Regions from separate parts of the Homo sapiens genome. Here regions 1, 2 and 3 are each linked to region 4. The links are contacts of gene promoters, found by promoter capture Hi-C in human tissues and cell types (Jung and others, 2019). All regions are on one chromosome and are shown on one strand. Each heading gives the region's core, a stretch centred on a gene start or on the middle of the fragment in contact. The rest is flanking DNA. Distances are from core to core; before and after follow the strand shown.

Region 1 (2,873 bases), core at 269-2,768, 330 kb before region 4:
AAAACATACTAAAATGCTAAAAGACATGGAAGACAGATCCATATCTGAATTCCCAGAGGATGGAGAGTTTAAAAAGAAATTAACTCTAAAATAATAAAATACAAGAAGGATTATTTAGCAAAGAAAAGTAGTAAAATTTAGTGCTAAGTACCAAAAAGTATTGATGACAAAAATCTTAATAGAAATCTCGAGCTAAAAACTGCCAATGATAAGAAGGGAGAAGGGAGTTGGCTGAAGGTGGGGTAGGGAGGGAGAGAGTGCACTAAAACCATGTAAGATAGTTGTCTAATTGAAAGGAAGCTATAGATGCCAATTAACTCCTGATGTTGTTAGAAAAATATTTGTAAGTATATATATTATAAAATTAAGAGTAATTATGAGAAAATACAAATAAAAGGGATAAATTTCAGTCATTTATGGGGAAGGGATAGAGCTCAGAATAAAGAAACCCCAATCAATCTAGCTGTGTCCTGAAGAAAAAATATAATGAGTAATTAGGATGTTTCTGAGATTGTAGAAATGGTCTATCATTAACAAGTCTATAACAATAATTCAATTGAGTAAGTCAAACAAGAAAAATAGATGAGCATCTCTATAAAGGTGAAAAATTCACTTGATAAAATTCAGTCCTCATCTTTGATTAAATACAACTATAGGTATTTAAAAAATACTTTGAAAACTTTATAAAGAATACCTCAAATATCTAACTTTAATCAATATTCCACCCCAAGGCATTCCTGTTAAAGTCAACATCAAGAATGCACACATTAGGGGGGGTGGTTCCAAGATGGCCAAATAGGAACAGCTCCAGTCTATAGCTCTCAGCATAAGTGATGCAGAAGATGGGTGATTTCTGCATTTCCAGCTGAGGTACCGGGTTCATCTCACTGGGGCCCGTCGGACAGTGGGGGCAGGACAGTGGGTGCAGCTCAATGAGTGTGAGCCGAAGCACGGTGAGGCATTGCCTCACCCGGGAAGCACAAGGGGTCAGGAATTCCCTTTCCTAGCCAAAGGAAGGGGTGACAGATGGCACCTGGAAAATTGGGTCACTCCCACCCTAATACCGTGCTTTTCCAACGGTCTTAGCAAACGGCATACCAGGAGATTATATCCCGCACCTGGCTTGGAGGGTCCCACACCCACGGAGCCTCGCTCATTGCTAGCACAGCAGTCTGAGCTCAAACTGCAAGGTGGCAGTGAGGCTGGGGGAGGGGCGCCAGCCATTGCTGAGGCTTGAGTAGGTAAACAAAGCAGCCAGGAAGCTCAAACTGGGTGGAGCCCACCACAGCTCAAGGAGGCCTGCCTGCCTCTGTAGACTCCACCTCTGGGGGCAGGGCATAGCCCAACAAAAGGCAGCAGAAACCTCTGCAGACTTAAATGTCCCTGTCTGACAGCTTTGAAGAGAGTAGTGGTTCTCCCAGCACAGAGTTTGAGATCTGGGAATGGACAGACTGCCTCCTCAAGTGGGTCCCTGACCCCCATGTAGCCTAACTGGGAGGCACCCCCCAGTAGGGGCAGACTGATACCTCACATGGCCAGGTACCCCTCTGAGACAAAGCTTCCAGAGGAACGATCAGGCAGCAACATTTGCTGTTCAGCAATATTCGCTGTTCTGCAGCCTCCGCTGCTGATACCCAGTCAAACAGGGTCTGGAGTGGACCTCCAGCAAACTCCAACAGACCTGCAGCTGAGGGTCCTGACTGTTACAAGGAAAACTAACAAACAGAAAGGACATCCACACCAAAAACCCATCTGTACGTCACCATCATCAAAGACCAAAGGTGGATAAAACCACAAAGATGGGGAAAAAACAGAGCAGAAAAGCTGAAAATTCTAAAAATCAGAGCACCTCTCCCACTCCAAAGGAACGCAGCTCCTCGCCAGCAACGGAACAAAGCTGGAGAGAGAATGACTTTGACATGTTGAGAGATGGCTTCAGACGATCAAACTTCTCCAACTAAAGGAGGAAGTTCGAACCCATTGCAAAGAAGCTAAAAACCTTGACAAAAGATTAGACGAATGGCTAGCTAGAATAAGCAGTGTAGAGAAGTCCTTAAAGGACCTGATGGAGCTGAAAACCATGGCACTAGAACTATGTGACGAATGCACAAGTTTCAGTAGCTGATTTGATCAACTGGAAGAAAGAGTATCAGTGATTGATGATCAAATGAATGAAATGAAGTGAGAAGAGAAGTTTAGAGGAAAAAGAGTAAAAAGAAACAAACAAAGCCTCCAAGAAATATGGGACTATGTGAAAAGGCCAAATCTATGTCTGATTGGTGTGCCTGAAATTGACGGGGAGAATGGAACCATGTTGGAAAACATTCTGCAGGATGTTATCCAGGAGAAATTCACCAACCTAGCAAGGCAGGCCAACACTCAAATTCAGGAAATACAGAGAACACCACAAAGATACTCCTCCAGAAGAGCAACTCCAAGACACATAATTGTCAGATTCGCCAAAGTTGAATGAAGGAAAAAATGTTAAGGGCAGCCAGAGAGAAAGGTTGGGTTACCCACAAAGGGAAGCCCATCAGACTAACAGCTGATCTCTCGGCAGAAACTCTACAAGCCAGAAGAGAGTGGGGGCCAATATTCAACGTTCTTAAAGAAAAGAATTTTCAACCCAGAATTTCATATCCAGCCAAACTAAGCTTCATAAGTGAAGGAGAAATAAAATCCTTTACAGACAAGCAAATGCTGAGAGATTTTGTCACCACCAGGCCTGCCCTAAAAGAGCTCCTGAAGGAAGCACTAAACATGGAAAGGAAGAACCGGTACCAGCCACTGCAACAACATGCCAAAATGTAAAGACCATTGATGCTAGGAAGAAACTGCATCAACTAACGAGCAGAATAACCAGCTAACATCAT
Region 2 (2,848 bases), core at 101-2,600, 450 kb before region 4:
TAAGGGTCACTTTCACGGGCATCAGAAATTCTAACAATCCCAGAGCCAGGATTACAGGCATGAGCCACCGCACTAGGCTCATTATTCTAGATACTAAGAGGAGGGAAGAAACTGCTAACTCTATTCCAATAAAAACATCTTCTTCAAAGAAAAAAGGTAAGCCAAGCACAGTGGCCATGCCCGTAATCCTGGCACTTTGGGAAGCTAAGGTGGGAGATCACTTGAGGCCAGAAGTTTGAGACCAGCCTAGGCAACCTAGCAAGACTCCCCCTCTACAAAAAAATTTAAAAATTGACACATGCCTGTGGTCCCCGCTACTTGAGAGGCTGAGGTATGAAGATCATTTGAACCCATGAGTTTGCAGCTACAGTGAGCTGTGATTGCACCACTGCACTGCAGCTTGGGCAACAGAGTGAAACACTGTCTCTAATTAATTAATTAATTAATTAATTAATTAATTTTTAATTAAAAAGAAAAAGAAAAAAGAATAACTTTCATATCAGCCAGGCACTTCCAAAGTTGTTGGGCTTGTTGGTTGTCTCTGATAGCAAAATAATCTATAGACTGCCTTTTATTTCTGCTTTTGGGAAAATTTAATAAAGTTTGGTTTCTGAGGTAGTACCCTCAATTTAACAATTTGTTTTCTTGAAAATTTGAAGATTATATATATGTCTCTTCACGTGTATGCATATGCCTTATGTATATACACACATATGTGTATTTGTGCAAACATGTATACATCCATATTCCATTTTAGGCATTAGGCATATGCTTACAAAGATACATAAACATATATATTGTGAGCATGTTTAAGACTATATAGGCCAGATTGGTGGCTCACATCTGTAATCTCAGCACTTTGGGAGGCTGACGCAGGCGGATCACTTGAGATCAGGAGCTTGAGACCAGCCTGGCCAACATGGGGAAACCCCATCTCTACTAAAAACACAAAAAAATTAGCCGTATATGGTGGCGGGCACTTGGAGTCTCAGCTATTTGGGAGGCTGAGGCACAAGAATTGCTTGAACCTGGGAAGCAGAGGTTGCAGTGAGCCAAGATTGCACCACTGCACTCCAGACTGAATGACAGAACAAGACTCTGTCAAAAAAAAAAAAAGACTATATAAACACATACATACAGAATGCCTTATAGATGTTTATGCCCCTTTGAGTGGAACACTGGTGGTTGTGGGGAGGAAGGCACACATGGAAGAAGTAAAAATAGCCATAGGGTTCCCCAGGGGACGATATTCTCAAGAAATTTGGAAGTTCAGCAGGGCACAGCTCAGAAAGGGAGGTGATGGTGGTGGTGGTGGTAGTGGTGTTGATGATGGTGATGGTGGTGGTGATGGTGATGGTGGTGGTGATGATGGTGGTGGTAATGGTGGGATGGTGGTGTTGGTGGTGATGGTGGTGGAGGCTGTGGTGTTAGTGGTGATGGTGGTGGTACTGGTGGTAGTGGTGATGGTGGTGGAGGCAGTGGTGGCGGTGGTGGTGATGGTGGTGGTGGTGATGATCATGGTTGTTGGGGTGGTAGTGGAGGTGGTGATGGTGGTAGTGTTGGTGGTGGTAGTGTTGGTGGTGGTGGTGTTAGTGGTAGTGATGGTGTTGGTGGTGATGGCGATGATGGTGGTGGAGGTGGCGATCATTGTGGTTGTGTTGGTAGCAGAGGTGGTGATGGTGGTGGTGGTGATGGTGGTGGTGGTGGTGTTGGTGTTGGTGTTGGTGTTGGTGATGGTGATGGTGATGGTGTTGGTGGTGATGGTGATGATGGTGGTGGTGGTCATCGTGGTGGTTTTGGTGGTAGTGGAGGTGGTGATGGTGGCAGTGGTGGTGATAGTGATGGTGCTGGTCGTGGTGGTGATGGTGTTGATGGTGGTGGTGGTGATGGTGTTGATGGTGGTAGTGGTGATGGTCCTGGTGGTGATGGTGATGATGGTGGTGGTGGTAGTGGTGATCCTGGTGGTTGTGGTGGTAGCGGTGATGGTGTTGGTGGTGTTGGTGGTGTTGATGATGTTGTTGTTGGTGGCAATGGTGGTGGTAGTGGTGTTGGTGGTGGTGATGGTGTTGGTGGTGATGGTGATAATGATGGTGGTGGTGGTGACCATGGTGGTTGTGGTGGTAATGGAGGTGGTGATGGTGGTAGTGGTGGTGATAGTGATGGTGCTGGTGGTGTTGTTGGTAGTGGTGATGGTATTGGTGGTGGCAGTGGTGATGGTCCTGGTGGTAATGGTGATGATGGTGGTGGTGGTAGTGGTGATCATGGTAGTTGTGGTGGTAGTGGTGATGGTAGTGGTGATGGTGGTGGTGGCAGTGGTAGTGATGGTGATGATGGTAGTGCTGGTGGTGGTGGTGATGGTGGCCTGGTGGTGGTGGTGGAGCTGGTGGTGATGGTGGTGGTGGCAGTGGTGATGGTGGTGGTAGAGGTGGTGGTGATGGTGGTGGAGGTGGTGGTGCTGGTAATCGTGGTGGTGGTGGCGGTGATGGCAGTGGTGGCGGTGGTAGTAGAGGTGGTGGTGGTGGTAGAGGTAGTGGTGATGGTGATGGTGGTAGATGTGGTGGTGGTGGTGGTATATCTACATGATGCAGCAGGCTAGTAGAAGATCCCAAAAAGTTGATTTCAAGAGTAGCTGGTGGTTGTGGTAGAACCAGCTTTGCCATTCTTTTGCCAGGAAAAACTTGTGCTTGGCATCACTACTTGTGGCACGCCTCTTCCGAGCCCTAGACTAAGTGCCCTCTCTGAGCCTCCATAGCACCCTGTAGCACTCACTCCTACCATAGTGTCTGTCGCTCTCTTGTCTGACCTCTCAGTATAAAGGAAGCTCGATGAGAGTGAGTAAAGCTTTTCC
Region 3 (3,025 bases), core at 472-2,971, 270 kb before region 4:
CCACCTCAGCCTCCCAAGTAGCTGGGATTACAGGTGCCCACCACCACACCCAGCTAATTTTTGTGTTTTTAGTAGAGATGGGGTTTCACCACGTTGGCCAGGCTTGTCTTGAACTCTTGACCTCAGGTGATCCTCCTGCCTCGGCCTCCCAAAGTGCTGAGATTACAGGTGTGAAGGTGTATTTCTTACTATGTAAACTAACTAGTTTTTCTAAAAATATGGCTCGTGTCTCATTTAGTCATTCATTCATTCATTCATTCATTAAAAGAAAAACAACAACACAAACATGATTAGCCCTCACTATGTTCCAGTATCTATGCTAGATCTTGGATATATGCTGGCAAACAAGAGGGCACAATATCCCAGAGGACTGAGGCGACTGAACAAATAAACACAATGTAATTCGGGAAGAGGTGAGGGCTGCGGTCAAACATGAGAGGATCTCACCCAGACCTTGGGGTCAGGACATGCCAGAAATATAGAAAATGACTGGTCTTCTCCTTGCTATTTGAGGACCTCTAGACTGGGGTGGGGGAAGTAAGGAGGAGCAGCAAATCTGTCTTAGGAGTCAAGTAGCAATACAAGTCAACCACCCCCGTGGGGGGTTTGTAGGATGGGAGATGGATGGAGCTCTGTCAGTACCTCTGGTATAAGAAATGAATTCACGGCCTATCTGAGCTACCAAGAGGGCACTATGAGTTTGTCTTCAGCAGCCTCACATTCCTTTCTGTGTTCTCTCCAACCTTCTTGACCCCTTTTTCCCAAGTTCCAGACACTACCCCTCCAAGTCTATCCTTAACACAAATCCCTGTGTCCTTTCTTCCACCATTTTATTCTCAATAAAATAATTTTTCATAGGATGTTAGCAGGCACTAAGTCAAATTACACAGAAGTGTGAATTGCTGCTGTCCCATCATCCCCCCGAAGTGTGCGCACTGAAAACTGATTTACAGCATGATTACTGGTTGGCTCCCAAATCTAAAAACAAAGTCTAAATACCCAAGATGAAAATAAAGTATATTAATTCTATGAAATTAAATACTTCTATTTAAATGATAATTATGAAGATTGGAAAATGCATATCAGTAATAATATCATAATAAAATACAATTTATATCATTTTTATATATGGTGGGGAAAAACACAGATGTATGCATATTATAATTGCAGTTATACAGTTGGAGTGTAAGTATGAAAGAGTTGCAAAGACATGTATGCAGTTCTGTTCACTTGAATAGTTTATGTGTGAGTAAGTCTGGGTTATTTTAATTTTTTAAAAAAAGCAACAATGACTGACAAAGGGATTTGCAGGAGGATAGCTATATAATACACCAGTTTCTAAAGCCAGAAGTACAAGGAAATCAACCTGTCTCATTTCATGGATATACTAATTATAGGCAGTTATTGCTAGTTTCTGAGAGTATGCAAGAACCATCTGAAACAGCCTGAGGGTCTTACCCTCCAGGGCCCTAGATTAAAGAATTCCCTAAATTAGCAGGACTGTTTGACATTTTAATAGACTGCTCCAAGCAACTCTGTTACTTGGGTTAAAAAAATTTTTAAACAGAAACAGCAATTTATTTTATGTTAATTTTATGTCTTAGCAATTTATTTTATGTTAATTTTATGTCTTAGATACACATCCATTCATACACAGAGAGCCAGTAAAATTAATCCCTTTGTGGGATTAATTTTATTTTATGTGCTTTGGTTTTTTTCTAAGCATCAGTCTTTAATAACATTGTATGTCCTACAAATTATATAACATATGCTTTTCCAAGGAAACGAGAATAGGATTAAATGGATGATAAATCTCCTGATGAGAAAAAATTGTGACTTTATATTGATTTTAATATTTGAAGATAGTGCCAGTTACCTAGGAGTTGCTGACTGCTGCGAAACAGCAAAACCTAAACATCTAATCTCATGCAGTTATCTCATCTGCAGGGTAAAAGTGTCTTAACTGGAGGCCTTGATGCGTTGGAATTCATCGGCAAGAAAACCATGAATGTCCTTGCAGAAAGTGACCCGGGCTTTAAGCGGACCAAGACGCTCATGGAGAGAACTGTTTCCTTGTCTCAGGTTGGATTATATACGTTTGCAATTTTTTCTTTCAGTCAATAAAGTAAATAAATTTTTTATTTATCTTTTTGAATAGCTCATTTAAAGCATGTGATTCAAATCAAATGACACCAAAGAGCAGAGAGAGAAAACTGAGCTTCTAATACCCCCATTTCCCCAGTCACTTAATTCCTCAGAGGAGACAACCAGTTAACAGTTCCTTAAGGATTCTATCAGAGACCGCAGAGAGATATGGATATAGATCTATAGATGCAGCTATACATAAATATACAGATGTAAAAGTACATATGTATGCATGTGGATAGACATGCACATAAATACACACATATTTTTTCAACCCAGTGGTAACATACTAAACACACTCTTGTTCCTTGCTTAATTCACTTAATATTATTTCTTGAAGATGATCCATTTATGTCATGGTATGCATCCCATCTCTACCACTTAGTAGCTGAGTGACCTTGGGCAAGTTACTTAGCCCCTCTGTGCCTCAGCTTACTCATCTGTACACTGGGGATAATTTAAATACCTACCAATAACTTTGTTGTGAGGATACGCTGAGTTAGAATAGAACCCAGCTCTTAGTAAGCATTCAGAAATGTTAGTTGTTGTCATTGCCGTTATTATGTGTCGGTATAATAGGTGGAAATGGTATCTCATTGGAATTTTAAATTCTGTTTCTCTTGATATGTGCAAGGATGGTCTTCTCCTCTCACACTTCCAGCACTAAAGTTTTCCAGCCCTTCTTGCAAAACATAAAACAAAGAATTCAATCTGTCTTTGCTTACTTACAATAGTTAAGAAAATTGGAAATAATATTAGTCTTGTTTTCCAAATATGACTCTAATATTAAACTTACTTTTCCAGATGGAACATGCCTAGCTTACCCCACAATCCAGGCATGCCCCAGTCCACCTCCTCCACGAGAGACTGATACACCAGG
Region 4 (3,071 bases), core at 544-3,043:
TGTTTTTTTTGACGGAGTCTCGCTCTATCGCCCAGGCTGGAGTGCAGTGGCGCGATCTCCGCTCACTGCAAGCTCCGCCTCCCGGGTTCACGCCGTTCTCCGGCCTCAGCCTCCCGCGTAGCTGGGACTACAGGCGCCCGCCAATACTTCTTAATCTCCCACACTTAAGTGGAACAGGATGGTTTATGGAGGCTGAAGTTGAGTATTTCCCTTCTCCCAGGTAGTTTAGGCTCTGATAAAACCCCAGCAGACTAGGCTTTGGTAAAAATACTTTCTCCTGAGGGCAGGTCTTGTTAAGAACTGATTGCTCTGGCTATTTTTAAATGGTTACCCTTTCAGCAGAGGAATCTTTCAGTAAAAATTTAAGTAATTAACCTAACTGTCAGAGGCGTTTGAACCAGAGCGATTCCATTTTGAGTGAGGGCTAGGAAAATGAGGCTGAGACTTGCTGGGCTGAATTCTCAGAATTTGGGCATTCCTCGCCTCTAGATGTTTACGATTAAGGGAATAAATTAATAATGTTTACTAAAACAGACCCAGATATCGGGATATCTGGAGAACAAAGGCATTCCTAATTTTGCTTTAAAGATAATAATATCAATTCCTGCAAAATAATTAAGAAAATTAATCTTTGATCACAAACCCTTGTAGCAGAGCACATCTCCCCATATATACAAGCATTGTACCTAGGGTGGATGCGTCCCTTCTCTTGCTTTCAGGAATGTCCTACTCTGTCTATGGAGTAGCTGTCCTTTCACCACTTTACGTGTTTTAATAAACTTGCTTTTCTCAGCACTGAGAACTCGCCCTGAATTCTTTCTTGCGCGCGATCCAAGAACCCTCTCTTGGGGTCTGGATCCGGACCCCTGTCGTAACGTAACTGAAAACCCCAGTGCAAAGGCATAGCACCCTACTTAAGAATTTGCAAACATTCATTATTAGTTATTTCAAATCATTGATTAACTTTCTCTAAGCCAATCAGATTCCTACCTGATGTCGAAAAGAAAAGCAAAAGGTAGACTGTTTCAACACTTTCAGACGCTTGGGTAAAAGATGCACTTTCATGCTATAAATAATGCAGCACAAATACTGTACAACAGGGCTTTATACTTGGGGAAAAGCTGCCAGATCCAAACTCTAAAGGAAAACTATTGGAGCTCATTTTTCCTGCCCACGTTAGCTAGCACATTTTGTTGACATTGAAAAAAAAAAAAGATTTTGGTGAAACTGAAAAAAAAAAAGCACCAACAACCCTACCTTGAAATAAACTATTGTACCTCTTATGCCTCCTCCCTTCTACCCCAGAAACCTGGAAGAAAAAAAGATATACCCGAGCTCGTCCAACCCCTCTTTGCGTGGACTGTATAGGAGTATTTAGCCCATCCTGCCTCCTTTAATCTAACATTCTGCGTCTTCTTTCCTTCAGCTTCTCGGCGCCCCCTTTGGCCAGCACTGACATCTTAGTCATCGCGGTCCAAAATTTACGCACGCGCCTTTGAGGGCTCACAGAGCCCGTCTCTCCCGGACGAATCTCATCCAATCAGAGCCAGCCAGGAAGCCGAGGCTCAGCAAGGCCTCGCGACGCCCAACTTCCCAGGGTTAGCGTCTCTGATGTCATGTGATTCCACCCTCCGCCTCTCACCCACCCTCGCAGAGGGCGGTGCGCTTGGCCCGGCCCCTCGAGGCACCGCCTTTCAATTAGCACTCGCTGATTGGTCGCTGCTCGCGCGGTCTCCTGGGTGACGGGAACGCGGTAGCCTGCTTGGTGGAGACCGGGTGCGCCTGCGTACTTCATAGTTCGCGTAGCGGCTCGAGCGTGGAGATGAAGGTAAATAACTTACAAATTCCCGGGGTGGGGCGGGAAAACGCGACTACTGGCCCTTGGTCGCTTTTAAAAGAGGATATCTGTCCCTCTCCCTTCTGAGTTCGTTGGAAATGAGGAAGAGAGAGAGAGAGAGAGGTGGCCAGAGAGAGCGGGGGCGAAGCTGAAGGGACGAGAGAAAGGAAAGAAAATAGGAGGAGAGGAGAGGGCGGAGAGAGAGGCCTCTCGTTTTGGGGACTGCAGACGCCGTAGAAGCGGTGCAGAAAGTGGGAACCCCTCCCTGGCCGAAATGAGCGGACTGGATCTAAAGATACCCCAGCTTCGCACGCGGAAAGAACTGGTCGAGTTAACGCGTTTGGAGGGTCGCTGTGAAGTTGACTGGGTCCGATGTCACGAGCTACCTCATTTCTTGGGGCTAAGCCTCTGGCAAGCCGCGCAGCTGCCCAGCGCCTTAAAAAGAATGAAAAGCCTCCTAAAGAATAACTTCAAAATGTATTACCTGTGACCAGTCCAATCACCTGCTAGCGAGTGTACATTATTGACGGGAAATCTGCACCCGAAAACTCAGGTCTCACGCTCATGTGCCTCATCCTCTGCACGCACGGTTTCTAGGCTTGGGCTTCTTGTTCACCCCACTTTCTGATTTATCAGAGCAGTCCCCCCTTGCTCTGCTCTGGCAAAGAAATGGAAGGCTTTTTTTTTTTTTTTTTTTTACTGAGTCTCGCTCTGTTACCCAGGCTGGAGTGCAGTGGCGCAATCTCTGCTCCCTGCAACCTCCACCTCCTGGGTTCAAGCGATTCTCCTGCCTCAGCCCCCCGAGTAGCTGGGACTACAGGCGCGTGCCACCACACCCAGCTAATTTTTTGTATTTTTAGTAGAGATGGGGTTTCACCGTGTTAGCCAGGATGCTGTCACTCTCCTGACCTCATGATCCCCCGACCTCGGGCTCCCAAAGTGCTGAGATTACAGGCGTGAGCCACCGCGCCCGGCTGGAAGGCTCAATTTTAAAATTATTTTAGATGTCCTCATGCTTCTTCGTGGCTATTAGTGTGGAAATTGGAATTGACGGACCAGTAATCATAACTCCCATTTTTATTTCTAAAGCTCTTTACAATTTATGAAATATTAGAAGTGAAGAGTTATTATTCATGATTTACAGTTGAGAATTTTTTGCTGGAGGCAATTTAAACGACTTACTTAAAGCCCTACAGCTAATAAGCTACAAACAAAATTTAAGTCTTGGTTTTTT

The links. Contacts are between HindIII fragments. The study calls those that stand out against the background at their distance.
Region 1: a contact is called between a fragment that was not itself captured here and the fragment with the promoter of WDR19 in region 4, in 1 of the 25 tissues and cell types used here (spleen).
Region 2: a contact is called between a fragment that was not itself captured here and the fragment with the promoter of WDR19 in region 4, in 1 of the 25 tissues and cell types used here (spleen).
Region 3: a fragment that was not itself captured here is called in contact with the fragment with the promoter of WDR19 in region 4 in 1 of the 25 tissues and cell types used here (spleen).

Annotation. Positions count from the first base shown.
Region 1 is chr4:38,846,527-38,849,399 of GRCh38, forward strand. All of the region lies in intron 1 of TLR6 (toll like receptor 6), which reads right to left. Among named protein-coding and RNA genes, the nearest start is that of TLR6, 8.9 kb to the right of the region's middle. The HindIII fragment of the contact is 4,111 bases long and covers 1-2,873 here.
Region 2 is chr4:38,731,813-38,734,660 of GRCh38, forward strand. No RefSeq gene overlaps it. Among named protein-coding and RNA genes, the nearest start is that of TLR10, 50 kb to the right of the region's middle. The HindIII fragment of the contact is 3,485 bases long and covers 1-2,848 here.
Region 3 is chr4:38,906,645-38,909,669 of GRCh38, forward strand. It overlaps FAM114A1 (family with sequence similarity 114 member A1), which reads left to right. Exons shown (of 15, transcript NM_138389.4): 7 at 1,948-2,082. Among named protein-coding and RNA genes, the nearest start is that of MIR574, 40 kb to the left of the region's middle. The HindIII fragment of the contact is 7,729 bases long and covers 1-3,025 here.
Region 4 is chr4:39,180,736-39,183,806 of GRCh38, forward strand. WDR19 (WD repeat domain 19) reads left to right here and starts at 1,794. Exons shown (of 37, transcript NM_025132.4): 1 at 1,794-1,828. The coding sequence starts at 1,823. RefSeq lists enhancers at 1,463-1,642, 1,494-1,788, 1,913-2,062, 2,763-2,832. The HindIII fragment of the contact is 15,497 bases long and covers 1-3,071 here.